Linked DNA regions of Homo sapiens: regions 2, 3 and 4 are each linked to region 1. Evidence: promoter capture Hi-C in human tissues and cell types (Jung and others, 2019). All regions are on one chromosome and are shown on one strand. The core of a region is centred on a gene start or on the middle of the fragment in contact, and the rest is flanking DNA. Distances in the headings are between cores, read along the strand shown.

Region 1 (6,637 bases), core at 1,430-3,929:
ACCCCTAGGATCCCGAGAAACCCCAGTGCCCCGGCAGCGATGAGCACAGCCCACGCGTGTGCTGATGGACAGGGACCGCGTGCTGGCAGCTTCCAGACGGCATCCTGTGGGGCTTCAGCCGCCGCTTCTCAGGGAGCTGCATGTGACACTGCAGCAGCACCGCAGCTTCCTGGTCTGGAAGCAGTACCTCACCCTGCTGCCGGACCTGGTGGATAAAGTGGCCCATGGGTGTGAAGCCCTAGGCTTTTCCCTAGTCTTGAAGCCCAACCCCAGAGGGCCTTGCAAGAGATGAAGCACATGCAAAACACCGAGGTCTTCACACTGCACCAGCCCCTGCCAAAGTATGACCACTGTGTGGGTGAGAAGCACCGCTGGGTAGAGCAGCACCTGGAGTCCCAGCTTGTGGAGTGAATTATCCTGACAATGGACAAGACCGTGGTCTTTGGGGACTTGCTCACTGATGACAAGGATACCATTCGAGGCCAAGAGGAGAGGCCACAATCAGTACCTGGTCCTGCCATGCACAGGGAGGTGGCTGCTCTCCTGGAATGGTAACAGGACGGAGATCATAGCCAGCCAGCAGGGAGCTAGGCAGCAGGAACGAACAGGCCCTGCAGGGGGCAGCAGCTGCAGCTGGAGCAATGGTGGGCGGGCAGGCACCAAAACCTCTGCACTGTCACAGGCCCAGCCACCTGGCACCTCCTAGCTGCCATGGAAATACAGTGAGAAAACCAGTTGGAATTCTTTTTATTAAAAAAAAAAGTGACTTCCTGGTCCATACATAAATAAGAACATTGAAACTACTTGAAAATTTTTTGTTGTTGTTGTTTGTTTTTTGTTTTTGTTTTTGTTTTAGATGGAGTTTCACTCTTGTCCCCCAGGCTGGAGTACAATGGCGTGATCTCGGCTCACTGCAACCTCTGCCTCCAGGGTTCCAGCGATTCTCCTGCCTCAGACTCCCGAGTAGGTGGGACTACAGGTGTGCACCACCTCACCTGGCTAATTTTTGTATTTTTAGTAGAGACGGGGTTTCACCATGTTGGCCAGGCTGGTCTCGAACTCTTGATCCGCCTGCCTCGGCCTCCCAAAGTGCTAGGATTACAGGTGTTAGCCACCGCGTCCGGCCTGTTTTTTTTGTTTTGTTTTGTTTGTTTTTAATATTATGTGTCTTTTCTCTTTCCTTACAATGCCTTTTTTTTTTTTTTTTTTTGAGACGGAGTCTCACTCTATTGCCCAGGCTGGAGTGCGTGGCACGATCTTGGCTCACTGCAAACTCCGCCTCCTGGGTTCATGCCATTCTTCTGCCTCAGCGTCCCGAGTAGCTGGGACGACAGGCGCCCGCTACCACGCCCGGCTAATTTTTTGTATTTTTAGTAGAGACGAGTTTTCACCGTGTTAGCCAGGATGGCCTTGATCTCCTGACGTCGTGATCCGCCCGCCTCGGCTTCTCAAAGTGCTGGGATTACAGGCGTGAGCCAGCGCGCCCAGCCCTTACAATGTCTTTTAACTGAGCACTAGGTTTGAGGGACCTCTCAGTTTTGGAGCGGCAGGGGCAATTCCCCAACCAACTTTCCATTCCATTCCTGTCTCCTTACACTAACCTCCGGAATGTTGGAAGCTACATCCTTTCTCCGTATGAAAAGCGCAGGGACGAAAAAAAATAAAAATAAAAAAATAAGTGTAACTCCCCTCAAAGGGCCGGGCGCAGTGGCTCACCCTGCAATCCTAGCTCTTGGGGAGGCAGAGGCGGGAGGATAGCTTGGGTCCAGGAGTTCAAGACCTACCTGGGCAACATAGCCCGGGGTGGTGGTGGTGGGGCGGGAGGAGGGACACACACACAAGCGAAAAGAGCGGGGCGGGGCGAAGGGGACACACACACACACACAGTGGAAAGCGCAGGAACAGGGATGGGCAGAGGGGAACAATTAGCGGAGGTGAGTCACCTGGCGGCAGGAAGAGCGTGCCTCGCACCCGGCCCGCGCGCACCGGCTCGCGCCGCACCCCGGGCGGGAGGAAGTAGCGCTCGTGCCGCACCCGGCACAGCAGCCGCCCGGGGTCGGGGTCGTGGCCATCCAGCACCTCCAGCTCCACGGCCAAGGGCGTTCGCACGTCGCGCTTCACCAGCCGCACCAAGGGTTTCTCGGGCTCCAAGGCCCAGAGCAGCCCCATGGGCTCAAGCCCCGCGAAGCTGCCGCCCAGCGCGGGCGCGCGCTCCAGGTCCAGCTCGCCAAGGGTGTCGGCGCGGTAGCGCGCGTGGGCCTGGAAAAGCGCGCCCTTCTCGTCGCGCAGGGACGCGCGCAGCGTGACCGGCTGCTCCGGGGCTAGGCCGCGCACGGCGATTCGCACCGGTTCGTCCCAGCAGCAGCGGCCCGCGGGCTCCAGGATCAGCGTCGCCGCCATCCGAGCAGGAACCCAAATAATCCGGCCAAACTGCCTCAGCTGTGGAGACCCCTGCAACTCTGCCCAACTCTTCCTCTCGGGCTGCCGTCGCAGGCTAAACGCCCACTAGGGCAGAGCTGTCTGCTAATGTGAGCGGGGAAGGCCAGAGTCCAGCCGATCAGCCAGACCAAATATAGACACACTGGAACTTGCTTAAAGTCTCCTGTGTTGAAACCTCCACTTTATGTTGGAAAGCAACTTCCTAGGTTTGCTTTTCAGAAGCTTGCTGGCTCGCGGAATGGGCTGGGCCAGGACTGGTTCGTCCCGGCTACTCGGGAGGCTGAGGCAGGAGAATGGCGTGATCCCGGGGGGTGGAGCTTGCAGTTGGCCAAGATCATGCCACTGCACTACAGCCTGGGCGACAGAGCGAAAGTCCGTCTCAGAAAAAAAAAAAAACAACAACAACCAGGCAGCTAGCAGTCTCCAGGCTCCAAACTCCTGATGGCGAAGAGGAATGCAGGACTGGAGTTGGTTTTGATCACTTTGTTGAATAATTCACACTCATTACTAATCTTAGGGCTTTTCTTTCAAAATCTGCACCATGGTGTTTTGCTTTCGTGTTCTCTGTATATGCCTATCCTCCACATCACTCCCACATCGAAGGGTGCTGGCTTCTTACTAGCTGTGTGACCTCTGAGCTTTATTCCTTACAGGTGTAAAAATAGCCAAATGAGGTAATAGTTATTAATTTCTCGAACTCCTGACTTTGTGATCCGCCCGCCTCGGCCTCCCAAAGTGCTGGGATTTACAGGCGATGAGCCACCGCGCCCGGCCAATAGTTATTATTTTCTTATACTGGTTTCTCATTTTTGTCCCAGTCAGGCAAGTGTTACCTCTCATCTTTTTTTTTTTTTTTTTTTTTTTTTAAAGAGACAGGGTCTCACTACGTTGCCAGTCTGGAGTACAGCGGCGGTTTACCATCACTGCGCACTTACAAGCCTCAAACTCCTGGGCTAAAGCCATCTTCCTGCCTCAGCCTCTCAAACACCTCAAGGGACTACCGGCGCTCCCCATGCATTGGGCTTTTTTCTACTTTTTCATAGGCTATTGGTTCCAACCAGAGGTGGTTTTTTTTTTTCATCAAACTTAAGCTTTAGGCCCCTCCCAAGCCCTTGTACCTGATTTCATAATTTCCTATCTTGGTAATTAGAGAAACCTATAAATGCGTAAGCTTCAAACTCACAAAACCTGTGTTTGCCTCTGCTCCTAATAAGGCTGTCCTCAAGGTAAGCCTTTTTATCTCTTTCCAAATGCTCTCATGTCCCATGTCCCATGTCATTATCATACAACTCCCTGTTAGTTGTAATTACCTTTGTATAGGTTCTGTGGCACACATCAAGTATATTCTGTGCATAGAAGTCTCAGGAACTAAAGAAGGTAAATAATAGTAGCTAATTGTTAATACTTACAAGAACCGTAGTAGTAAATTAAGGCCCAGAGAATTTAACTGATTTTCTGAAGATCATACAGCTGGGAAGTGGAAGTTGGGTGAGGTGGCTCACGCCTATAATCCCAGTTTACTTGGAGGCTGAGGTGGCAGGGTTTCTTAAGGCCAGGAGTTTCAGACCAACCTGGATAAGACCCTGTCTCTAACAAGAAAAAGGGGCCAGGCGCGGTGGCTCGCGCCTGTAATCCCAGCACTTTGGGAGGCCGAGGCGGGTGGATCACGAGGTCAGCAGATCGACACCATCCTGGCTAACACAGTGAAACTCCGTCTCTACTAAAAAAAAACCAAAAATACAAAAAATTCGCCGGGCGTGGTGGCAGGCGCCTGTAGTCCCAGCTACTCGGGAGGCTGGGGCAGGAGAATGGCGTGAACCCTGGAGGCAGTGCTTGCAGTGAGCCAAGATGGCGCCACTGCACTCCAGCCTGGGCAAAAAAAAAAAAAAAAAAAAAAAAAAAAAAAAAAAAAAGAAAGAAGAAAAAGAAAAGAAAAAGGGAGAGGGTTCATATGTTTGAAATCTGATTCTCAAGGCTGGGCTCTGAACAACTATGTTTAACTGTCTCTCACAGGATGTTGAAGAAGATTTGGAAAAGAAACTCATATTGGTGGATATATAAACTGGTATGACCTTTTCATGGCAATCTATGCAAAAATATTTAAAAGATCCCTTCTCTTTGACTCACAGTTCCACGTCTAGGAATTTGTTTTAAGTATAACTTCATAAATATGTGTAAATATTTGGCTACAAGGATGCTAATCATATCATTTTAATAGAGAAAAAATTAGAAACAAGTTAGCAATATAAATTTGGTTTTACCAGTTTAATTGTGATGTCATAAATGAAAGCAGTTTAGTTATAAAGCAGAAGAATATATGATGAGCATTCTTCCATGAAACTGATGAAAAAAAGCAGGTTAGAGAACAGTATAAATATACTTTTTACCAAGATATTAACATATTTTTTAAAAAGACTAGTCAAACACTCCCCCAGTAGCTGAATGCAGTGGTAGATGCCTGTAGTTCCAGCTGTTAGGGGGGAGGCCTAGGCAGGAGATTGCTTGAGCCCAGGAGGAATTCGATACCAGCTTGGGCAACAGAGCAAGACCTCATCCCTTAAAAAAAAAAAAAAAAGCAGAAAAGATAAGACATGAAAATTAAAAAAAACACACATCTAACTATTTCAAACTGTTGTTTCTTGAGCCTTGAGGTTTTATGCATAGTATTTGTTTATTTGCTTGTTTGTTTTTTAAGACGGGGTGTCTCACTGTGTTACCCAGGCTGGAGTGCAGTGGTGCGATCATAGCTCACTGCAGCCTCAACCTCCCAGGCTTAGACAGTTCTCCCACCTCAGCCTCCCGAGCACCTGGGACCACAGGCATGCACCACCACACCTGGCTAACTTTTTAGATTATTTGTACAGATGGGGTCTCCCTATGTTGCCTGGTCTCGAACTCCTGGGCTTAAGCAATCCTCCCACCTTGGCCTCCCTGAGTGTTGGGATTATAGGCAAGAGCCACTACACTCGGCCATGTTTCTTTTTTTAATTCTTTTTTTTTTTTCAAGACAGAGTCTTGCTCTGTCGCCCAGGCTGGAGTGCAGTGGTCTGATCTCGGCTCACTGCAACTTCTGGCTCCCGGGTTCCAGTGATTCACCTGCCTCAGCCTCTTGAGTAGCTGGGATTACAGTCACATGCCACCACGGCCAGCTGATTTTTGTATTTTTAGTAAAGACGAGGTTTCACCATGTTGGCCAGGCTGGTCTCAAACTCCTGACCTTGTAATCTGCCTGCTTCAGCCTCCCAAAGTGCTGGGACTAGAGGCATGAGCCACCGTGTCTGGCCTTAACTCTTATTTTTTAGAGACTAGGTCTTGCTCTGTCACCCAGGCTGGAGTGCAATGGCACCATGATGGTTCATTGCAGCCTTGAACTCCTGGGTTCAAAGGATCCTCCCACCTCCTCTTCCCAAACAAGTGACCCTACCACCTCATCTTCCCAAAGTGCTGGGATTGTAGGCATGCATGGCCTCATTTTAACCTTTTTTTTTTTTTTTTTTTTTTAGAGACAGGGTCTTGCTATGTTGCCCAGACTGGTCTCGAACTCTGGCCTCAAGTGATCATCCTGCCTTGGCCTCTCAAAGCGCTAGAATTACACGCATGAGCTGCTGGAACAAGCCCATTTTAACCATTTTTAAGTGTACAAGTCAGTGACATTAAGTACATTACATTGTTGTACAACTATCACCATTATCCATTTCCAGAACTTTTGGAGTCTTGCTCTGTCCCCCCAGGCTGGAGTGCAGTGGCGCGGTCTCAGCTCACTGAAACCTCCGTCTCCTGGGATCAAGTGATTCTCCTGCCTCAGCCTCCCAGGTAGCTGGGACTACAGGCGCGTACCAGGACACCCAGCTAATTTTTGTATTTTTAGTAGAGATGGGGTTCCACCATGTTGACCAGGCTGGTCTTGAACTTCTGACCTCAGGTGATCTACCCTCCTCGGCCTCCCAAAGTGCTGGGATTACAGGCCTGAGCCACCACGCCTGGCCCATTTCATTCCTTTTTAAGGCTGAATAACATTCTGTTGTATGTATCTTCCACATTTTGTTTATCCATTCATTCACTGATGGACATTTGGGTTCTTTCCACCGTTTGGCTATTGTGAGTATGCTGCTATGAACATGGGTATACAAATATCTGTTAAAGTCCCTGCTTTCAATTCTTTTGGATATGTACCCAGAAGTAGAATTGCTGGATCACA
Region 2 (6,637 bases), core at 1,400-3,899, 62 kb before region 1:
GCGCCACCATGCCCAGCTAATTTTTGTATTTTTAGTAGAGATAGGGTTTCACCACGTTGGCCAAGCTGGTCTCGAACTCCTGACCTCAAGTGATCTGTCCGCCTCAGCCTCCCAAAGTGCTGGGATTACAGGCATGAGCCACCACACTGACCTGCTAAAGTAGTTTATAACCAATGTTTGGTTTGTCAAATCCATATTTTTGGGAAGACAGTCAAAGCTTCAGGTACATTTACCTGATGGGTCATTTAAACACTTACAAAAATATTTCATTTAATTGTCATTTTCTTTTTTTTGGAGACAGAGTCTCACTCTGTCATCCAGGCTGGAGTGCAGTGGTACAATCTCGGCTTACTGCAATTTCCATCTCCTGGGTTCAAGCAATTCTCCTGCCTCAGCCTCCTGAGTAGCTGGGATTACAGGCACGCACCACCACACCTGGCTAATTTTTGTATTTTTAGTAGAGATGGGGTTTCGCCATGTTGGCCGGGCTGGTCTCGAACTCCTGACCTCTCAGGTGATCCGCCCGCCTTGGCCTCTCAAAGTGCTGGGACTACAGGCGTGAGCCAGCACGCCTGGCCGAGAAGTTCTTAAACAGATATCTAGAGGTGTATTTTGTCTAGTGGAGTGAAACCCACTGAGATTTTTAGAAAACCCCACAAAGTTTTTAAGAAAATTGTTCTGGCTGGCTGGGCGTGGTGGCTCATGCCTGTAATCCCAGCATTTTAGGAGGCCTAGGCAGGTGGATCACCTGAGGTCAGGAGTTTGAGACCAGATTGGCCGACATGGTGAAACCCTGTCTCTACTAAACATAACAAATTAGCCGGGTGTGGTGGTGGGTGCCTGTAATCCCAGCTACTTGGGAGGCTGAGGCAGGAGAATTGCTTGAACCCAAGAGGCAGAAGTTGTAGTGAGCTGAGATCACGCCATTGCACTCCAGCCTGGGAAACAAGAGCAAAACTCCGTCTTGGAAAAAAAAAGAAAATTGTTCTGGCTGAAGAATAATTCCAGTTCCACTATGAGCTGGAACTTAAAAGGCAGAGAATACAAAATTAAAAGAGAACTTTGAACTCCCCTTTTCCATCTAGGAGGCAGGTTAAATTTAATTGCTAACTCATTTTCTTATGGAAAATAAAGGTTTCAACTCAGGAGGTAGAACCAAAAGCTACAGAGAACAACTCACAGAGAGTAAATTGAACACTAATGAAGGAATTGGCAGCGTGTTCTCCGGTGTGTTTCAGAGTTGCTACAGGCTAGTGACAGCTGTGTGCCACATTTTCCCCATTTTTGAACAGGACTGTCTATAGGAGTTATCTTATACTTCTCCCACCATTGTATTATGGACATGCATCTGTGAGGATAGCTAACTTGTTTGTTTCAAAGCCGTTCAGATTGAGAAGAAGGATATTCAAGGAGCTATACCCAAGGGACTGTTCTGAGCCTCATCTATACCTGGATCTGATATAGATGATGAAATATTGGACCTTCAGCCTGAGTGCGATGCTATAATGAAATGAGATTTTTGGGGGAGAGGGTATAGAAGAGGAATGGGTGTTATTTTACATGTGGAGGAATGTATGGCCAGAAGGCAGACTGTATTTGCCAAAGATGGTTACAATTATTTCCCATTCCACATGCTCTTCTCCAGAACCTTGCCACTCTCCTTTCAAGAGGCAGACTATGCTCTCCTTGAACTTTGGTTAGCCTTTGACTGCCTTGTTCAATAGAGCATGGGAGAGTGATAGTATGTATAATAGCTTCCAAGACAAAGCTGAACAAAGGTCATGCAGAATTGCTTGCTAGGCTTGCTAGGCTCTCTTGGAGACTCTACTTTTATGGCAGGGAGGTTGGTGCTGGCTGTCAATTGGGAACTCAGGAAGGGATATGATTTAGGGGGTTCTCAATTTCTCTCCATCTGGGCCTTCTTGCTAATTACTTGGGCTGAGTTTCAACCCCTCAGTCAAATTACCGCAGCCCGTGTCACTTCGAACAGTGGTGATCCATTCCTACCCAGTCCTGTCCCATTTGCAGACTCTTGAGAAAAATACATGGTTAGTGTTTTAAGCTGCTGTTTTAGGGTGGTTTGCTACACAACAATAGATAACTGAAACACACCTGAAAACATAGTCACATAAAACAAAAACAATCTATTTTGCTCACAAATCTGCAGTTTGGACAGGGCTTGAGAGGGACATCACTGCTCAGTGGAGGTTATGTGAAGTCTCCACCGAGATTTAAATGGCTGGGGGCTAGGATGATCTGGAGGTGTTTTTCACTCACATGTCTGGCACTTGGGCTGAGATAACTGAGACGCTGACCACAGTTGGGACTGTCACAGGAGTGCCTGTGGTTGGCTTATACATGTATTTTAAGCTTCATCACAGCATCACAGCATCACATCCTCAAGGTAGTCAAACTTCTTTTTGTTTTTTTTTTGAGACAGTCTCGCTGTGTTGCCCAGGCTGGAGTGCAGTGGTGTGATCTTGACTCATTGCAACCTCTGCCTCTCAGGTTTGGGAGATTCTCCTGCCTCAGCCTCCTGAGTAGCTGAGATTACAGGCACCCAACACCACACCTGGCTACTTTTTTGTATTTTTAGTAGAGATGGGGTTTCACCATGTTGGTTAGGCTGGTCTCGAACTCCCGACCTCAGGTGATCCGCCTGCTTTGGCCTCTCGAAGTGCTGGGATTACAGGTGTAAGCCACAATGCCTGGCCTAATTTTTGTATTTTTAGTAGAGATGGGGTTTCACCATGTTGATCAGGCTGGTCTCAAACTCTAGACCTCAGGTGATCTGCCTGCCTCAGCCTCTCAAAGTGCTGGGATTACAGGCATGAGCCACAGCGCCTGTCCCAAACTTCTTACATAGTGGCTCAAGCTCCAAAGGCAGGTGTTCCTGGCAAACACGGTAGAATCCTCACGGCGTTCTATGACCTCGCCTGCAAAGTCACTGCCGCTCTACTCTAGTGACTGAAACAGTCACAAGTTCATCCAGATTTGAAGGAAGGGGACATAGGTCTCCCATCTCTCTCTTTTTTTTTTTTTTTTGAGACGGAGTCTTGCTCTGTCGCCCAGGCTGGAGTGCAGTGGCATGATCTCGGCTCACTGCAAGTTCTGCCTCCCGGGTTCACACCATTCTCCTGCCTCGGCCTCCCAAGTAGCTGGGACTACAGGCGCCTGCCACCACACCCGGCTATGTTTTTTTTTTTTTTTTTTTTTTGTATTTTTAGTAGAGACGGGGTTTCACCATGTTAACCAGGATGGTCTTGATCTCCTGACCTCATGATCCGCCCACCTCGGCCTCCCAAAGTGCTGGGATTACAGGCATGAGCCACTGCACCCGGCAGGTCTCCCATCTTTTGATGAGGGAAATGCCAATGAATTTACAGCTATGTTTTAAAATTACCATAAACAAGCCTGGTGCAGTGGCTCACACCTGTAATCCCAGTACTTTGGGAGGCTGAGGCAGGTGGATCACTTGAGGTCAGGAGTTAAAGACCAGCCTGGCCAATATGGCGAAACCCCATCTCTACAAAAGAAATAAAAGGCCAGGCGCGGTGGCTAATGCCTGTAATCCCAGCACTTTGGGAAGCCGAGGCAGATGGATCACAAGGTCAGGGATTTGAGACCAGCCTGGCCAATATGGTAAAACCCTGTCTCTACTAAAAATACAAAAATTAGCCAGGCATGGTGGCAGGTACCTGTAGTCCCAGCTACTCGAGAGGCTGAGGCAGAAGAATTGCTTGAACCTGGGAGGCAGAGGTTGTGGTGAGCCGAGATTGTGCTATTGCACTCCAGCCTGGGCTACAGAGCAAGACTCCTTCTCAAAAAAAAAAAAAAAAAAAAGAAAAGAAAAAAGAAAAAAAAAGAAAAAGAAATACAAAAATTAGCTGGGCGTGCTGGCACATGCCTATAGTCTGAGCTACTTGGGAGGCTGAGGCAGGAGGATCACTTGAACCCGGGAGACAGAGGTTGCAGTGAGCTGAGATCGTGCCACTGCACCCCAGCCTGGCCAACACAGCAAGACTCTGTCTCAAATAAATAAATAAATAATGGCCGGGCATGGTGGCTCACGCCTGTAATCCCAGCACTTTGGGAGGCCGAGGCGGGTGGATCACGAGGTCAGGAGATCGAGACCATCCTGGCTAACATGGCGAAACCCTGTCTCTACTAAAAATACAAAAAATTAGCCAGGCGTGGTGGCGGGCACCTGTAGTCCCAGCTACTTGGGAGGCTGAGGCAGGGAGAATGGCATGAACCTGGGAGGCGGAGCTTGCAGTGAGCTGAGATTGCGCCATTGCACTCCAGCCTGGGTGACAGAGCCAGACTCTATCTCAAAAAAATAAATAAATAAATAAATAAATAAAATAAAATTACCATAAACAGTTTTACTGTGATAAGCGTAGTTTTTCTTTGTATTTATTCTGCCTGGCATTTACAATTCTTCTTGAATATGTGGCTTGATGTCTTTGACATCAGTTTTGGAAATTTCTCAGCCATTATCTTTTCAAATACGCTTATATTAATAAATGCTATGTAAGCTGGGCGCGGTGGCTCATGCCTGTAATCCCAGCAATTTGGGAGACCGAGGCAGGTGGATCACTTGACATCAGGAGTTCAAGACCAGCCTGGCCAACATAGTGAAACCCTGTCTCTACTAAAAATACAAAAATTAGCCGGGCATGGTGGCACATGCCTGTAATCCCAGCTACTCGGGAGGCTGAGGCAGGAGAATCGCTTGAACCCAGGAGGCAGAGGTTGCAGTGAGCTGAGATCATGCCACTGCACTCCAGCCTGGGCAACAGAGTGACTCTGTCTCAAAAAATAATAATAATAATAATAATAAATGCTATGTAGTGTCAATGTCAAGGAGACAAAGGAGTGATTCCTCTAGGGTTACCACAGTACGATTTTCCAAGTTCTATTCTTTTTTTTTCTTTTGAAACGGGGTCTCGCTGTGTTACCTGGGCTGGAGTGCAGTGGTGCAATCACGGCTCACTGCACCAATCTTGACCTCCCGGGCTCAAGCAATCGTCCCATCTGAGTCTCGAGTAGCTGGGACTACAGGTGTGTACCATGTTTGGCTAATTTTTGTAGGGATTGGGTTTTGCCATGTTGCCTAAGCTGGTCATGAAATCCTGAGCTCAAGCAATATGCCCCCCTTGACTTCCCAAAGTACTGGGATTACAGGTGTGAGCCACTGTACTCGGCCCCAGGGTCTGCTCTTAGAGAGGAAGTGAGAGGGAAAATAGATCGTAGTAATTCACCCTTGGAAGAGAGTACAGACTTAACTATTCTAGAGACAGGTCTCATCTCCTCCTGTCAAAAGAGTCTTCTCTCACGTTTATAATGAAAAGGTCAGCTGCCTTTCCTCATATTAACACCCCTCTGTATGTTTCTGGCCAAAGAAAATTCTACCCTGCTACTGATGGTTGAACAGCAAACATTAAGTGACCATTCTTTCATAGTGATGGAAAAAGTCACCAGCTTTAAAGCTCACCTGTGACTCAAAACATTAACTAAAAAAATCTAGAAGGAAACACAAATGTTAACTGGTGGGAATGTTTTTCACTTATATGTGTCATATGCCTCTTAATCTTCTACAACAAGCAAGTTACATTAGTAAAACTAACGACAAAGCTTATTCAACAAAGTTACGTAAAATACACCATTAATGACAAAGACATGGCTTTAATGTTATCCAGGAGACATCTGATTCACATAGGGTTACTGAACACTAGAATCTGATCTTGAATCTCTCATGTCAACAACAGACAAATGCATTACAATTTAGGGACAGCTGTTTTCTGGGTACCTCCCAGGTGTTTGCAGAAGAAGGCTAGAATTTGCTTCCAGGCATCTTCCTGGGCCTTAGAATGAGCCCTGGGCTCCCCACCCCATATAACATGTTTGTTCAGTAATCTGTGAAGGGAAGCTGGGCACAGGGGGAAGTAAGGAGGCTCGATGTAATGCCCAGTCCCAGGGTAACAGATGATCTGGGGTTTTTCCTTTCCATGGGCCTGTAACCGTTCAGAGACTGTTTGGGCATACAACTCACTTCTCCAGTTATGGTCATCCTGACCAACAATGAGCAGGATGGGCCCCTGGGCCTTCTCTATTGGAATCATGCTGGGGTTCTTGTACCCTCCTACGAGAGCATTCCTTATATCCACAATGTCCACGAGGCCTGAGAAAGCTACCTTGATTCTCCTCAGGTCATAGCCCAATGGTGGAATGCTACTGTGCTTATAGTTGATGGCTGTGTTCCCACTGATCCCAGATCCATTGATGGAAACTGTGGCTGAGACATTCTTCAAGAATGAGGCCATTGAGAGACAAATATCAGCTCCTAGAGAAATGCCCAAAAGCCCAATGCCTGGGCCTTTTACCTGGAAGAAAAGAAGAGAGGAGAGTTGAGTCAATAACTTATCCAGATTGGGTGCGGTGGCTCATGCCTGTAATCCCAACACTCTGCGAGGCGGAGGCGGGCGGATCACTTGAGGTCAGGAGTTTGAGACCAGCCTGGCCAACATGGCAGAACCCTGTCTCTATTAAAAATACAAAAAAAAATTAGCCGAGTGTGGTGGCGCACGCCTCTAATCCCAGTTACCTGGGAGGCTGAGGCAGGAGAATTGCTTGA
Region 3 (6,637 bases), core at 44-2,543, 62 kb after region 1:
TTTAGAAGACAGACACACAAGAACCTTTCAAAGACAATATGCTTAATTTAGTGAGAATTGTGTGGTATACAGCAGATGTGCTGTAGGAGTTCAGGGAAGGGGGGCAGGAGTCGTCATGGAGACATGGGAATTTGTGTTGGATCTGAGATGGCACAAGATTTAGGCAGAGAGGAGGAGAGAGGACCTTCCAGGTAAGGGGAGGGATGGGAGAAAAGGCTGGGGGAAGGAAGGAGCTCAGCAAGGGTCCATGACAGCTCCTTTCCCCTCTCCTGTTTCCACAGTGGTTCCCAAGTTTCTTCACAACAGAAAAGCAGGCATCTGCTCTCCTTACTATCACGGTTTTGTTTCTTTGTGTTTTGTGTTTGTTGTTGTTGTTGTTGTTGTTTTTGAGACGGGGTCTCACTCTGTTGCCCATGCTGAAGTGTGGTGGTAAGATCTTGGCTCACTGCAACCTCAACCTTCTGGGCTCAAGTGACTCTCCCACCTCAGCCTCCTCAGTAGCTGGGACCACAGGCATGCACCACAACGCCTGGCTAATTTTTATATTTTTTGTAGAGATGGGGTCTCGCTATGCTGCCTAGGCCAGTCCCAAACTCCTGGGCTCAAATGATCTGCCCTCCTAAAGTGCTGGGATTACAGGCTTGAGCCACTGTGCCCAGCCATGTTTTTGTTAATCTTTTTTTTTTTTTTTTTTTTGAGATGGAGTCTCGCTCTGTTGTCCAGGCTGGAGTCGGGGTGGCATGATCTCGGCTCACTGCAACCTCCGCCTCTCAGGTTCAAGAGATTCTCCGCCCCAGCCTCCTGAGTAGCTGGGATTACAGGCGCATACCACATGCCCAGCTAATTTTTTGTAATTTTAGTAGAGACGGGGTTTCACCATGATGGCCAAGCTGGTTTCGAACTCCTGACCTCAAGTGAATCCGCCTGCCTTGGCCTCCCAAAGTGCTAGGATTATAGGTGTGAGCTACTGCGCCCAGCCTTGTTAATCTATTAACAAAATGTTATAATGACAAAATACTCCAGAAGTTCCACAAATCCTTTTATAAAGGGCCCTACCTGTCCTTCCTGGCTGAGGCATTTACAGGTGATTCTCACTTCTCACAAAGATAAATGTGTCAGGTGTTTCCTTTTCATTGCTCCTTTTGTCATCTTTCCTCTCCCTTCCTTCTGCCATACTCATTAACTCCACTGGTTGATTAGACAAGGGACTGATCCCTATCCTGCCGTAAAAGAAAGCTTCTGTTTGGACCAGCATGTGGGAGAAACATGCTGACCTTGCCTTAGTCAGGATCTAGAGAAATTTTTCATTTTTCAATCAAGGTTCATGTTTCCATTGGTTTACACGTTCCATCTAAGTTACCATCCCCCTTGTGAACCACGTCAGCCAGACCAACAGCAAAGTGGGGGTTGTGGGTCAGAAGGAAATCACCTGTGTTAGAATTTCCTCTCCCCTACCCTCACCCTGTCCCATCATTTCTTTGTTTTCTTTTTTTTTAAGGGACAGAGTTTCTCGCTCTTTCATCCAGACTGGAGTGCAGTGTTATGACCTTGGCTCACTACAACCTCCACCTCTGGTTTTCAAGTGATTCTCGCGCCTCAGCCTCCTGAGTAGCTGGGATTACCTGTGTGAGCCACCACACCCGGCTAATATTAATATTTTTTTAGTAAAGACAGGGTTTCACCATGTTAGCCAAGCTGGTCTCAAACTCCTGGCCTCAAGTGATCCACCTGCCTCAGCCTCCCAAAGTGCTGGGATTACAGGCATGAGCCACCCGCACCCAGCCTTCCCATCTTTTTTTTTTTTTTTTTTTTTTGAGCCGGAGTCTGGCTCTGTCGCCCAGGCTGGAGTGCAGTGGCGCGATGTCGGCTCACTGCAAGCTCCGCCTCCCGGGTTCACGCCATTCTCCTGCCTGAGCCTCCCGAATAGCTGGGACTACAGGCGCCTGCCACCGCGCTCAGCTAATTTTTTTGTGTTTTTAGCAGAGACGGGGTTTCACTGTGTTAGCCAGGATGGTCTCGATCTCCTGACCTCGTGATCCGCCCGCCTCGGCCTCCCAAAGTGCTGGGATTACAGGCGTGAGCCACCTCGCCCGGCCTCCCATCATTTCTTGATGGGCTATATTGTCAGCAAACATTTACCAAATACATAATTAGTAGTCATCATGGATATGCCAGCAAATATCACGTGGTTTTTCTGACTTTGGGGATTTGTTGTCTAATTGGATAAAATGGGCTTTTCTTGTTGGAGGCAGCAACAGAGCCTTTCAGAGGTCAAGAGCAAGCTGGTTACTCTTTTTTTTTTTTTTTTTTTTTTTTGAGACGGAGTCTTTGTTGCCCAGGCTGGAGTGCAGTGGCACGATCTCGGCTCACTGCAAACTCCGCCTCCCGGGTTCACGCCATTCTCCTGCCTCAGCCTCCCGAGTAGCTGGGACTACAGGGGCCCGCCACCAAGCTCGGCTAATTTTTTGTATTTTTGTAGTAGAGACGGGGTTTCAACGTGTTAGCCAGGATGGTGTCAATCTCCTGACCTCATGATCTGCCGGCCTCGGCCTCCCATGGTGCTGGGATTATAGGCGTGAGCCATCGCGCCCGGCCTCGTTACTCCTTTTTGAGACCCCAGTTATATTTTTAAAAATGAAGTGCCAAAACTCAATTTTAAAAAGTTTTGGTAGATTTTTAATGTGTATGCTTAAGGTTTTTGTTTGTTTGTTTTTGAGACAGAGTCTTGTGTCGCCCAGGCTGGAGTACAGTGGCACAGTCTTGGCTCACTGCAACCTCCACCTCCCAGGTTCAAGCCATTCTCCTGCCTTAGCCTCCTGAGTAGCTGGGATTACAGGTACCCACCACCATGCCCAGCTAATTTTTGTATTTTTAGTGTAGACGGGGTTTTGCCATGTTGGTCAGGCTGGTCTCAAACTCCTGACCTCAAGTGATCCACTCGCCTTGGCCTCCCAAAGTGCTGAGATTACAGGCATGAGCCACTGCACCTGGGCAAGTTATCATTTTTTAACACAAACAATTACAATGAGTTTCTTTTGAAATAATTTTTAAAAAATTGAAATTGACATGAATGTTCATAGCAACATAGGGAGACCCCCGTCTCTACAAAACATAAAAATACCAGCCTGAGCAACATGGCAAAACCCCATCTCTACAAAAAATACAAAGATAGCTGGGCATGGTGGCATGCACCTCTGGTCCCAGCTGAGCCCAGGAGTTCAAGGCTGTAGTGAGCTGTGATCATGCCACGGCATTCCAGCCTAGGCAACAAAGCAAGACCTTGTCTTAAAAAAAAAGAATCCAGAGAGAGGATCAGGCAGTTAGTGCCTTCATTAGACCACACTATCCCATCAACACCAAACTGTTGTTTGGAGGGCTTCAGCTCACAGCACCATGCAATTTCCTAACGCTTCTGAGTTTGAGACTCCCCTAGACAGAAGCTAAGTGGAGCACATCAGACTTCCAAAAGCCTCTGCAAAGCAACGTGGTATTGTGGGAAAATGGTAGATGCAAGTTCAAATAACCTACTGCTAATAATAAATGTGTGACTTTGTGAAAATTACTTTATCCTTCTGACTTTTACTTTCATCATTTGTAAAACGAGAAGAAGACTATCTCATGGGTCTCTTGCATGTGGTTCCCAACCAGGCTGCATGTTAAAATCGCAGTTTAAAAATGTGACAGCCTGAGTCACACCTCCTGCAAGTTAAATTGGTGTCTCCAAGGGTGAGATCCAGACACCAGTAGATTTTTAAAGCTTCACACGTCATTCTAATCTGCATCCAGGATTGAAAATCACTCGTGAAGCCAGGTGCGGTCGCTCACGCCTGTAATCCTAGAACTTTGGGAGGCTGAGGCAGGAGGATCACCTAAGGTCGGGAGTTCGAGACCAGCCTGATCAACATGGTGAAACCCCCATCTCTACTAAAAATACAAAAATTAGCCGTGCGTGGTGGCCAGCATCTGTAGTCCCAGCTACATGGGAGGCTGAGGCAGGAGAATTGCTTGAACCTGGGAGGCGGAGGTTGCAGTGAGCCAAGATCGCGCCACTGTACTCCAGCCTGGACGATAGAGTGAGACTCCGTTTCAAAAAAAAAAAAAAATCACTGGTGAGAATTAAATAATGTTACTGTACTTATGTAAATCAGGTGCCCTGTTAGTTCCTAGTCATTCCTCAATTTAAATTTCAAACCAGCAATTGACTGTGCTTTTGGTGTGTGTTCTAAAATTTTACCACTAGATGTCACTTTGACCATACAAGTTGGTTCTTGGAAGCTTCTGCTTCTCCGTTCTCAGAGTAACAACCATACAGCATCACCACAACCATTTGTTGAGCACCTGCTGAATGCCAGGCAGAGTGCCAATTTTCTTTCTTTTTTTTTTGAGACAGGGTCTCACTCTGTCGCCCAGGTTGGAGTGCAGTGGTGCAATCATGGCTCACTGTAGGCTTGACTTCCTGGGCTCAAAAATGATCCTCTTTCCTCAGCCTTCCCAGTAGCTGGGACTATAGGCACGCGCTCACCGCACCCAGCTAGTTTTTAATTTTTTTGTGGAGATGAGGTCTCCCTCTGTTTCCCAGGCTGGTCTCAAACTTGTGGGCTCAAGTGATCCTCCCATCTCAGCCTCCCAAAATGTTGGGATTACAGGCCACCATGCCCAGCTGCCAGTGATTCTTAGAACACATGACCTCCAGTCACATAACAACAAATAAGCAAGGTAGTTGTTATCCCAGTCATGAAAAAAGGGTTACAAATAATCTGTGACTTGTACAAAGATACACAGTTAGTGGCAGAACTGGGATTCCAGCTTCATTCATTCATTCACTCATTCAAAAACACTGAACAGGCTGGGTGCGGTGGCTCATGCCTGCAATTACTTCACTTTGGGAGGCCGAGGTGGGAGGATCAAGACCAGCCTAGGCAACATAGTGAGACTCCATCTCTACCAAAAAAAAAAAAAAATACAAAAATTAGCCAGGCATGATGGCACATGCCTGCAGTCCCAGCTACTCAGAGGCTGAGGTGGGAGGATCACTTGAGCTCAGGAGGCAGAGGTTACAGTGAGCCGAGATGGGGCCACTGCACTCCAGCGTGGGTGACAGAGCCAGACCCTGTCTCAAAATTAATTAATTAATTAAAATTTAAAAACACTGGGCCAGGCGCGGTGGCTCACGCCTGTAATCCTAGCACTTTGGGAGGCCGAGGCAGGTGGATTGCCTGAGATCAGAAGTTTGAGACCAGCCTGGGCAACATGGTGAAACCCCATCTCTACTAAAATACAAAAAATTAGCCGGGTGTGGTGGCAGATGCCTGTAGCCCCAGCTACTCGGGAGGCTGAGGCAAGAGAATTGCTTGAACCTGGGAGGCAGAAGTTGCAGTGAGCTGAGATCGCGCCACTGCACTCCAGCCTGTGACAGAGTGGGACTCTGTCTCCAAAAAAAAAAAAAAAAAATTTAAAACACTGAACACTTACTATGTGCAAGGTACTGTACCTGGTACTGGAAATTCAAAGATGAATATAGCATAGTTCTCATTCTCCAGATGTTCTTTTTTTTTTTTTCTTGAGACAGAGTTTCGATCTTGTTGCCCAGGCTGGAGTGCAATGGCGCAATCTTGGCTCACTGCAACCTCTGCCTCCTGGGTTCAAGCGATTCTCCTGCCTCAGCCTCCTGAGTAGCTAGGATTACAGGCATGCACCAGCACGCCCGGCTAATTTTGTATTTTTAGTAGAGACGGGGGTTTCCTCCATGTTGCTCAGGCCGGTCTTGAACTCCTGACCTCAGGATCTGCCTGCCTTGGCCTCCCAAAGTGCTGGGATTACTGGCGTGAGCCAACGTGCCCAGCCAGAAGTTCATTTTTAACCTTCACTTGTAGGTACATTTGAGAAGAAAAGGTAGGCACTTTTTTTATAGTTGTTCTTGGCCCCAGGGTAGCTCGGTCTTCGAAAGAACTTAAATGTTGTGTTCCTAAGAGGGTAGGATGACCCTTAGGTAGAGTTTTACACTGTATCCAGCCACTATGATAAAAGAATATTTTTGAGAGCTTATTAGGTAACTAAGAAGCTAGAGATCACATCTGGTCTGTTTTATCACTGCCTTATTTAATTATTTATATCCTCAGCAACAAACTATTGGCATTGGGTATGTAACTAATTTTTAATCAATAAATGTTTACTGAATAAACGAATTCCTAGTACTGTGTTAAACATTGTGCAAAAAGAGCCGTGACAGAAATATGTAAAGAAGCCTGCATCTGCCTAGGCGCGGCGGCTCATGCCTATAATCCCAGCAATATGGGAGCCTGAGGTGGGTGGATCACTTGAGGTCAGGAGTTCGAGACCAGCCTGGTCAATATGGGGAAACCCCATTTCTGCTAAAAGTACAAAAATTAGCTGGGCGTGGTGGTGCCTGCCTGTAATCTCAGCTACTCAGGAGGCTGAGGCAGGAAAATCGCTTGAACCCAGGAGGTGGAGACTGCAGTGAGCCGAGATCATGCCATTGCACTCCAGCCTGGGGAACAAAGAGAGATTCCATCTCAAAAAAAAAAAAAAAAGAGAAGAAAAGAAAAAAGAAGTCTGCATCTTATTCTTATAAGCAAATCTGAATATTTCCTTCCAAAAGTAGTACCTTGTTTTAAGT
Region 4 (6,637 bases), core at 2,250-4,749, 39 kb after region 1:
TTGGAGCTTGCAGTGAGCGGAGATCACGCCACTGTACTCCAGCCTGGGCGACAGAGTGAGACTCCGTCTCAAAAATAATAATAATAAAATAAAATAAAAAGTTAGCCAGTGTGGTGGTGTATGCCTGTAGTCCCAGCTACTTGGGAGGCTGAGGCAAGAGGACTGCCTGGGTCCAGGAAGTCCAAAGCTGTCATGAGCCATCATCATGCCACTGCATTCCAGCCTGGGCAACAGAGAAAGACCCTATCTCAAAAAAAAAAAAAAAAAAAAAAGAGAGAGAGACTGCATAGGAGCCGCAGAGTGGGTAAGTGCCTATAATCCCAGCTACTCAGGCTGAGGCAGGAGAATCACTTGAGGTCAGGAGTTCAAGACCAGCCTGGGCAACATAGCAAGACCCCATCTCTAAAAATAATTTAAGGCCGGGCGCGGTGGCTCATGCCTGTAATCCCAGCACTTTGGGAGGCCGAGGCGGGCAGATCACGAGGTCAGGAGATCAAGACCATCCTGGCTAACATAGTGAAACCCCATCTCTACTAAAAATACAAGAAAAACAAAATTAGCCAGGCGTGGTGGTGGGCGCCTATAGTCCCAACTACTCAGGAGGCTGAGGCAGGAGAATGGCGTGAACCCAGGAGGCGGCGCTTGCAGTAAGCCAAGATCCAGCCACTGCACTCCAGCCTGGGCAACAGAGCGAGACTCCATCTCAAAAAAATAATAAAATAAATAAAAATAATTTAAACAAACAAACAAAAAGACTGCATAGGCATTCCAGGCTGGAAGCCAAATGCAGACATAATCATGGCACACGTGAGGGCAATGGAGAAGAGAACTTGACTGTGAAAAGAGGTGCAAGTTGACATTTTCCTTTATTCAGTCATTCAGTGTAACTGAAAGCCCTGCATTACCTAATTACTGAACAGCTATGTATTAGGGATTCAAGTAAAGAAGACAATCGAGCTCTGTACCCAGTAAAACTTATCTCATGAGCATAAGGCTGAATGGGATTGACAGCCTACAGAACCCGGATTTTATCATGAGGGCATTAGTGGGGGTTGGGGGTTAGGTACTGAAAGTTTAAGGAGGTGAAAGGAAAGCAACTTGTGCCTTACAGGGTCAAGCTAGGTCAAGGAAATTCCCAGGAGCGTGTGGAAGCTCTCTACCTGATAGGTGAGCTCAAGCTTATGACCGCCAAGCTTCTCCCAAGCTTCCTGCACTGCTTCTCTGATGACTTCACAGCAGTTCGGCGGGCAGCCTGTTTGGCAGCTGGTGCCCTGCAGATCCGCGACAAGATGGTGAGTCAGGGAAACATATTCTCATCTTACCTGATTGACCTGAAGAGGGCATTACCTTCCCTGGTTGTGCACAGTATGCTCAACATTCTGTGGGGACACAGAATGAGAGATTGGAACTGGGAAGGGGGTGTATAAGCCACTTCAAACAGGACTGTTTCAGGGGCATCCAATCTTTTGGCTTCCCTGGGCCACAATGGAAGAATTGTCTTGGGCCACATATAAAGTACACTAACACTAACGATAGTTGATGAGCTAAAAAAAAAAAAAAAAGGTCCGTGCATAATTCTCATGGTTTTTTTGTTTGTTTGTTTGTTTGTTTTGAGACGGAGTCTCGCTCTGTGACCCAAGCTGGAGTGCAGTGGCGCCATCTCGGCTCACTGCAAGCTCCGCCTCCCAGGTTCACGCCATTCTCCTGCCTCAGCCTCCTGTGTAGCTGGGACTACAGGCACCTGCCACCACACCTGGCTAATTTTTTTGTGTTTTTAGTAAAGATGGGGTTTCACCGTGTTAGCCAGGATGGTCTCGATGTCCTGACTTCGTGATCCGCCCGCCTCGGCCTCCCAAAGTGCTGGGATTACAGGCGTGAGCCACCGCGCCTGGCATAAATCTCATGTTTTAAGAAAGTTTACAAATTTGTGTTGGGCCGCATTCCAAGTTGTCCTAGGCCACATGTTGGACAAGCTTGGTTTAGCTCCCAGCCAGCCCAGACTTCGATTCTAGAGCACACCCCTGAATCCTGTTCTCACCTCAGTTAACTAGCTTCTCATTACCTGGGTGCTGATGGGCTTTAGGATCAACTCCCATAAATGGAGTTATAATTCCATTATTAGGGAAAAATCTGTTTGAAGTGTTCAAGAGAAGCCATATGGCCCCAGATCTGTAGACTGAGAAAATCAATAGCAGATAATTCAGCTAATGTACTCACTATGCATATAGGTTGGTACTTTAGGCTCCAGCTCATTTGTCACCAGAATTGATAGGTCATTTTTCAATTATAGCTCCTTTTAGAGATAAGTGGTTTCCCTGTTTCTGATTCATTCTTTTGCTTTGTTTTGTTTTTTTGCTTTTTTGAGATGGAGACTCGCTCTGTCACCCAGGCTGGAGTACAGTGGCACGATCTCAGCTCACTACAACCTCCGCCTCCCAGGTCCAAGCAATTCTCCTACCTCAGCCTCCGAGTAGCTGGGATTACAGGCGTGTGACACCATGCCCGGCTAATTTTTGTATTTTTAGTAGAGACAGGGTTTCACCATGTTGGCCAGGCTGGTCTCAAACTCCTGATGTCAAGTGATCCGCCCACCTTGGCATCCCAAAATGCTGGGATTACAGGGGTGCACCACCGCACCCAGCTGTTTCTGGTTCATTCTTGCTCTGGTCCTCCCCACTCAACACTGCCTTTTCCATCCCAGGTGCTTGAATGCCTCCTGAACCTGATGCAGAGAGATCCTTACTGGAAAATCAAGGCCTTTGCCATTCGAGGTATTATAGAAGTAGTGCCCCAAACTCTTCAACCTTAAATACCTTTGCCTATGCAAGTAGAAATGATCCCCTGAAACTCTCTAATGGGGTGAAGTGCAGGAGAGGTAATGATCTTAGCTTTTCAGAAGTTCCTTGTCTGAAAAGAGAAAGATAATTTTCTTCAATTTTTAGTGAAAGATCCTGAGTCTAGGTATATGTCAAACTTAAGTTAAAGAAAGGGCTGACAAGACAGTCCCTGCCAACAGAATTAAGGATAAGTTCCAAGTAGGTATCCAGTGCTGGATGCATCTTGCTTTCCTTGGAGATCTCAACTATTACGCTCTGCAAAAGTCAGATCAGTTTCAAGACTGCTACAGACCTAAAACCCTGCCCCTTAATCTGCCTAGTTTCTTTTTAGAATCTTTGGCATTGCTTCTCTTTTTGACATAGATAAATAATTGTGCCTCCTTTCCCCATCACCCTGCTGGGACTAGGCAGGTCTTCCATGTTATTTGTTCTATATTTCATCCCAAAATAGGCAAATATCCTAACAGGCAAGGATGGGATGGAACATCCCTCTTCTAGGAATCCTTTGGAGGTAATGTCCCATTCTGACCTATCCCTAAAATTCTAATGGTGATTACCATCCAAAAGGGAAGGTATTGTTTGCAAAACTCAATTTATTTCTGGATGCTAGAATATAGTAAGCTCAGTCTTCAGTGACATGCTGCCCTCTAATCTCTGCAGCTTTGGGACAGATTGGGCAAGTAAGTCCCGAGCTGACGGATCTTCTGCTCTGGGCTATCCACTATGAAGAGTCACCAGGTGTACGGCTGGAAGCTTGCCGTAGCATCCTAGCCCTGAAACTTCAAGGGGACCGGGTCAGGGACACCTTCCTAGACGTGCTGCTCCTGGAGAACCACGATGCTGTTCTAAAGTAAGCACTAAACCTCTGGCTCCCACCATGACCTTATACTGCCAACTCTCACATCTTTGCTCATTGAATATGTCCCTGCCTTTCCAGGCTACCTAATGGCAGTAAAAGCACTGGTTCACCTGCACATTCACCACTCACCCAAGTAGGTAACTGAAAAACTGGCCTAAATTAGATTGAAAGTCAAGCTTATGTAGTTCATGCATCTTTTCTCCCCACCAGGATGGGTTTTGGCCGGGTGTGATGACTCACGCCTGTAATCCCAGCACTTTGGGAGGCTGAGGCAGGAGGATCACCTGAGGTCGGGAGTTTGAGACCAGCCTGACCAAAATGGAGAAACCCTGTCTCTACTAAAAATACAAAATTAGCCAGGCATGGTGGCACATGCCTGTAATCCCAGCTACTAGGGAGGCTGAGGCAGGAGAATCACTTGAACCTGGGAAGTGGAGGTTGCGGTGAGCCGAGATGGTGCCATTGCACTCCAGCCTGGGCAACAAGAGCAAAACTCCGTCTCAAAAAAAAAAAGGATGGGTTTTAAGTTATTCATATATTCAACTAACATTTATCAAATGCCTATTGGGACAACAAGTTTTAGAGTCAAAAAGACCAGGGTTTGAATTCCAGCTCTGGCATGCAATAGCTATGTGAGCCCGTGTAAGGTATTTAAACTCTGTGAGCCCATTTTTTTCATGTATCAAATGCAGGTGATAGTCTACATTATAGGGTTGTGGTGATAATTAATGAGATGACATGTTTAGCGCCTGTCATAAAGGTGTTCAGTAAATGGTACCTATTGGCACCTTCAAATATATTGTCTTGGCCAGATGAGGTGGCTCACATCTGTAATCCCAACACTTTGGGAGGCTGAGGCAGATGGATCACCTGAGGTCAGGAGTTCTAGACCAGCCTGGCCAACATGGTGAAACCTGTCTCTACTAAAAATACAAAAATTAGACGGGCATGGCCGGGTGCAGTGGCTCACACCTGTAGCCCCAACACTTTGGGAGGCCAAGGCGGGTGGATCACCTGAGGTCAGGAGTTCTAGACCAGCCTGGCCAACATGGTGAAACCCCATCTCTACTAAAAATACAAAAACTAGCTGGGCATGATGGCACGCGCCTGTAGTCCCAGCAACTCAGGAGGCTGAGGCAGGAGAATCGCTTGAACCTGGGAGGTGGAGGTTGCAGTGAGCCGAGACGAGATCGTGCCATTGCACTCCAGCTCTGGGAAACAGAGCAAGACTCCATCTCGCAAAAACAAAAAGTAAACAAAAAACCCACAAATATATTGTCTCAAAAACTGCACATTATTCCTGTAAGCTAAGCATTATACCATTTTTGCATATAAGGCTCAGCAAAACTGCACAGTTAGGATTGGAACTTGGGATTCTTACCTGATTCCAAGTCCTATATTTTCTACCCCCATACTTTTTTAAAGGGCAGGGTAGAATAATCTAAGAAGCCCTTCTTATCTTTCAGAGAAATGTACCAGACAATGAAGATACTCAACTTAGGAAATGAAGGAAACCAAGAAATGCTTCAGGAGATCAAGAACAGGGTAAATAAGTGCAAGCTCTGTTCTCAAGAGAAAATTCAGGACTCTCAAGAGTTCCTCAGACCCTGTCCTCCTCAAACATGTACATACCCTTTTTCCCACCATAGAAGTACTTTCTAAAACCCCAGACACAGATGCCACATCATTTGAAGATGCAAAGCATCTGTGCAAGATTGGGTTACAAGGTCCTACTAGTAAAGACAAAAACAAAACAAAAATCCTATTAGTCCTATCAAGTAACCCTCATTGTTTCAGAAATACTATTTCCCTCCCTTCCTATTTTCTCCCCATCAACCCCAAACCCAAGTTGTTTATTTTTCCTTTTTTTCAAATAGGCATAGAGAAGGAATAAGGGACTAGAGCTGGCCCCCTAGATTTTCTTCTTAATTTTTCTGAATTCCTAATCTGGGTTTTCTCACCAAAGAAAATCTCTAGCTGAAAGGATTAACATAATTTTTGCTTTTTTTTTTGAGGGGGGGACAGTCTCGCTCTGTCGCCCAGGCTGGAGTGCAGTGGTGTGATCTTGGCTCACTGCAACCTCCACCTCCTGGGTTCAAGTGATTCTCGTGCCTCAGCCACCAAAATAGCTGGGATTATAGGCATGTGCCACCACACCCAACTAATTTTTTTGTATTTTTAGTGGAGACAAGGTTTTGCTATGTTGGCCAGGCTGGTCTTGAACTCCTGGCCTCAAGTGATCCACCCGCCTCAGCCTCCCAAAGTGCTGGGATTACAGGCATGAGCCATCATGCCTGGCCTGGATTGTTCTAATTTTTCAAAGCTGTTAGATAAGATGAAGGAATAGAGGGGAAAGGACTTTAAAAAGGTAATTCAAGAAACCAACTTCACATCAAGCAAGCAATTCTTAGCAGGTTCATCATGCCCAAAAAGCTGAAGTAAAATTTTCACGAACAGGTATAAAAAATCTCCAACCAATATCATAAGAGAACAATGTTCTCAGGCACTTATGTACCACCTACTACTGATAAGCATATGCAATTAGTTACTTCTTTATTTTCTAGAGACAGGGTCTCACTTTGTTGCCCAGGCTGGAGTGCAGTGGCATGATCACAGCTCACTGTAGCCTTGAACTGTTGGGCTCAAGTGATCCTCCCTCCTCAGCCTCCTACAATCACTTTATTAATGTTTTTTGATAATTTGCTGCCTAGTACAGGTGTTTTGTTTTGTTTTTCAAACATTATTTGTTCTAATTTAGATTAAAACACTAAGCCAAAAGGACTTGCTGACACACAAAATACTCAAGCTGGAGATGGTCATGGGAAAAGTGAGGGAGGAAGCAAAACGTGTTTACTTGAAACCCAAAGGAGAACAAGGACCACTAACACTCCAGACTTTACTCCAAGAAACTTTTCAGGGTAGGTTTCCTAGGGGTGAGTTC

Evidence for each region. The method cuts DNA at HindIII sites, captures the fragments that hold promoters and counts their contacts. A contact is called where the count stands out against the background at its distance.
Region 2: a contact is called between a fragment that was not itself captured here and the fragment with the promoter of ACOT1 in region 1, in 1 of the 25 tissues and cell types used here (dorsolateral prefrontal cortex).
Region 3: a fragment that was not itself captured here is called in contact with the fragment with the promoter of ACOT1 in region 1 in 2 of the 25 tissues and cell types used here (H1 embryonic stem cells and liver).
Region 4: a fragment that was not itself captured here is called in contact with the fragment with the promoter of ACOT1 in region 1 in 2 of the 25 tissues and cell types used here (dorsolateral prefrontal cortex and mesenchymal stem cells).

The regions. Positions count from the first base shown.
Region 1 is chr14:73,533,185-73,539,821 of GRCh38, reverse strand. ACOT1 (acyl-CoA thioesterase 1) reads right to left here and starts at 2,679. Exons shown (of 3, transcript NM_001037161.2): 1 at 1,944-2,679. The coding sequence starts at 2,400. All of the region lies in intron 1 of HEATR4 (HEAT repeat containing 4), which reads left to right. It also overlaps the pseudogene NT5CP2. The HindIII fragment of the contact is 14,338 bases long and covers 1-6,637 here.
Region 2 is chr14:73,594,798-73,601,434 of GRCh38, reverse strand. It overlaps ACOT4 (acyl-CoA thioesterase 4), which reads right to left. Exons shown (of 3, transcript NM_152331.4): 3 at 5,669-6,386. The coding sequence ends at 5,781. It also overlaps a transcript of HEATR4 not described here. Among named protein-coding and RNA genes, the nearest start is that of ACOT4, 6.2 kb to the right of the region's middle. The HindIII fragment of the contact is 2,710 bases long and covers 1,295-4,004 here.
Region 3 is chr14:73,469,891-73,476,527 of GRCh38, reverse strand. No RefSeq gene overlaps it. Among named protein-coding and RNA genes, the nearest start is that of NUMB, 15 kb to the right of the region's middle. The HindIII fragment of the contact is 5,447 bases long and covers 1-4,016 here.
Region 4 is chr14:73,495,205-73,501,841 of GRCh38, reverse strand. HEATR4 (HEAT repeat containing 4) reads left to right here. Exons shown (of 18, transcript NM_001220484.1): 12 at 1,112-1,292; 13 at 2,702-2,771; 14 at 3,498-3,687; 15 at 5,163-5,241; 16 at 6,455-6,614. It also overlaps a transcript of ACOT1 not described here. Among named protein-coding and RNA genes, the nearest start is that of RIOX1, 7.6 kb to the right of the region's middle. The HindIII fragment of the contact is 3,819 bases long and covers 1,590-5,408 here.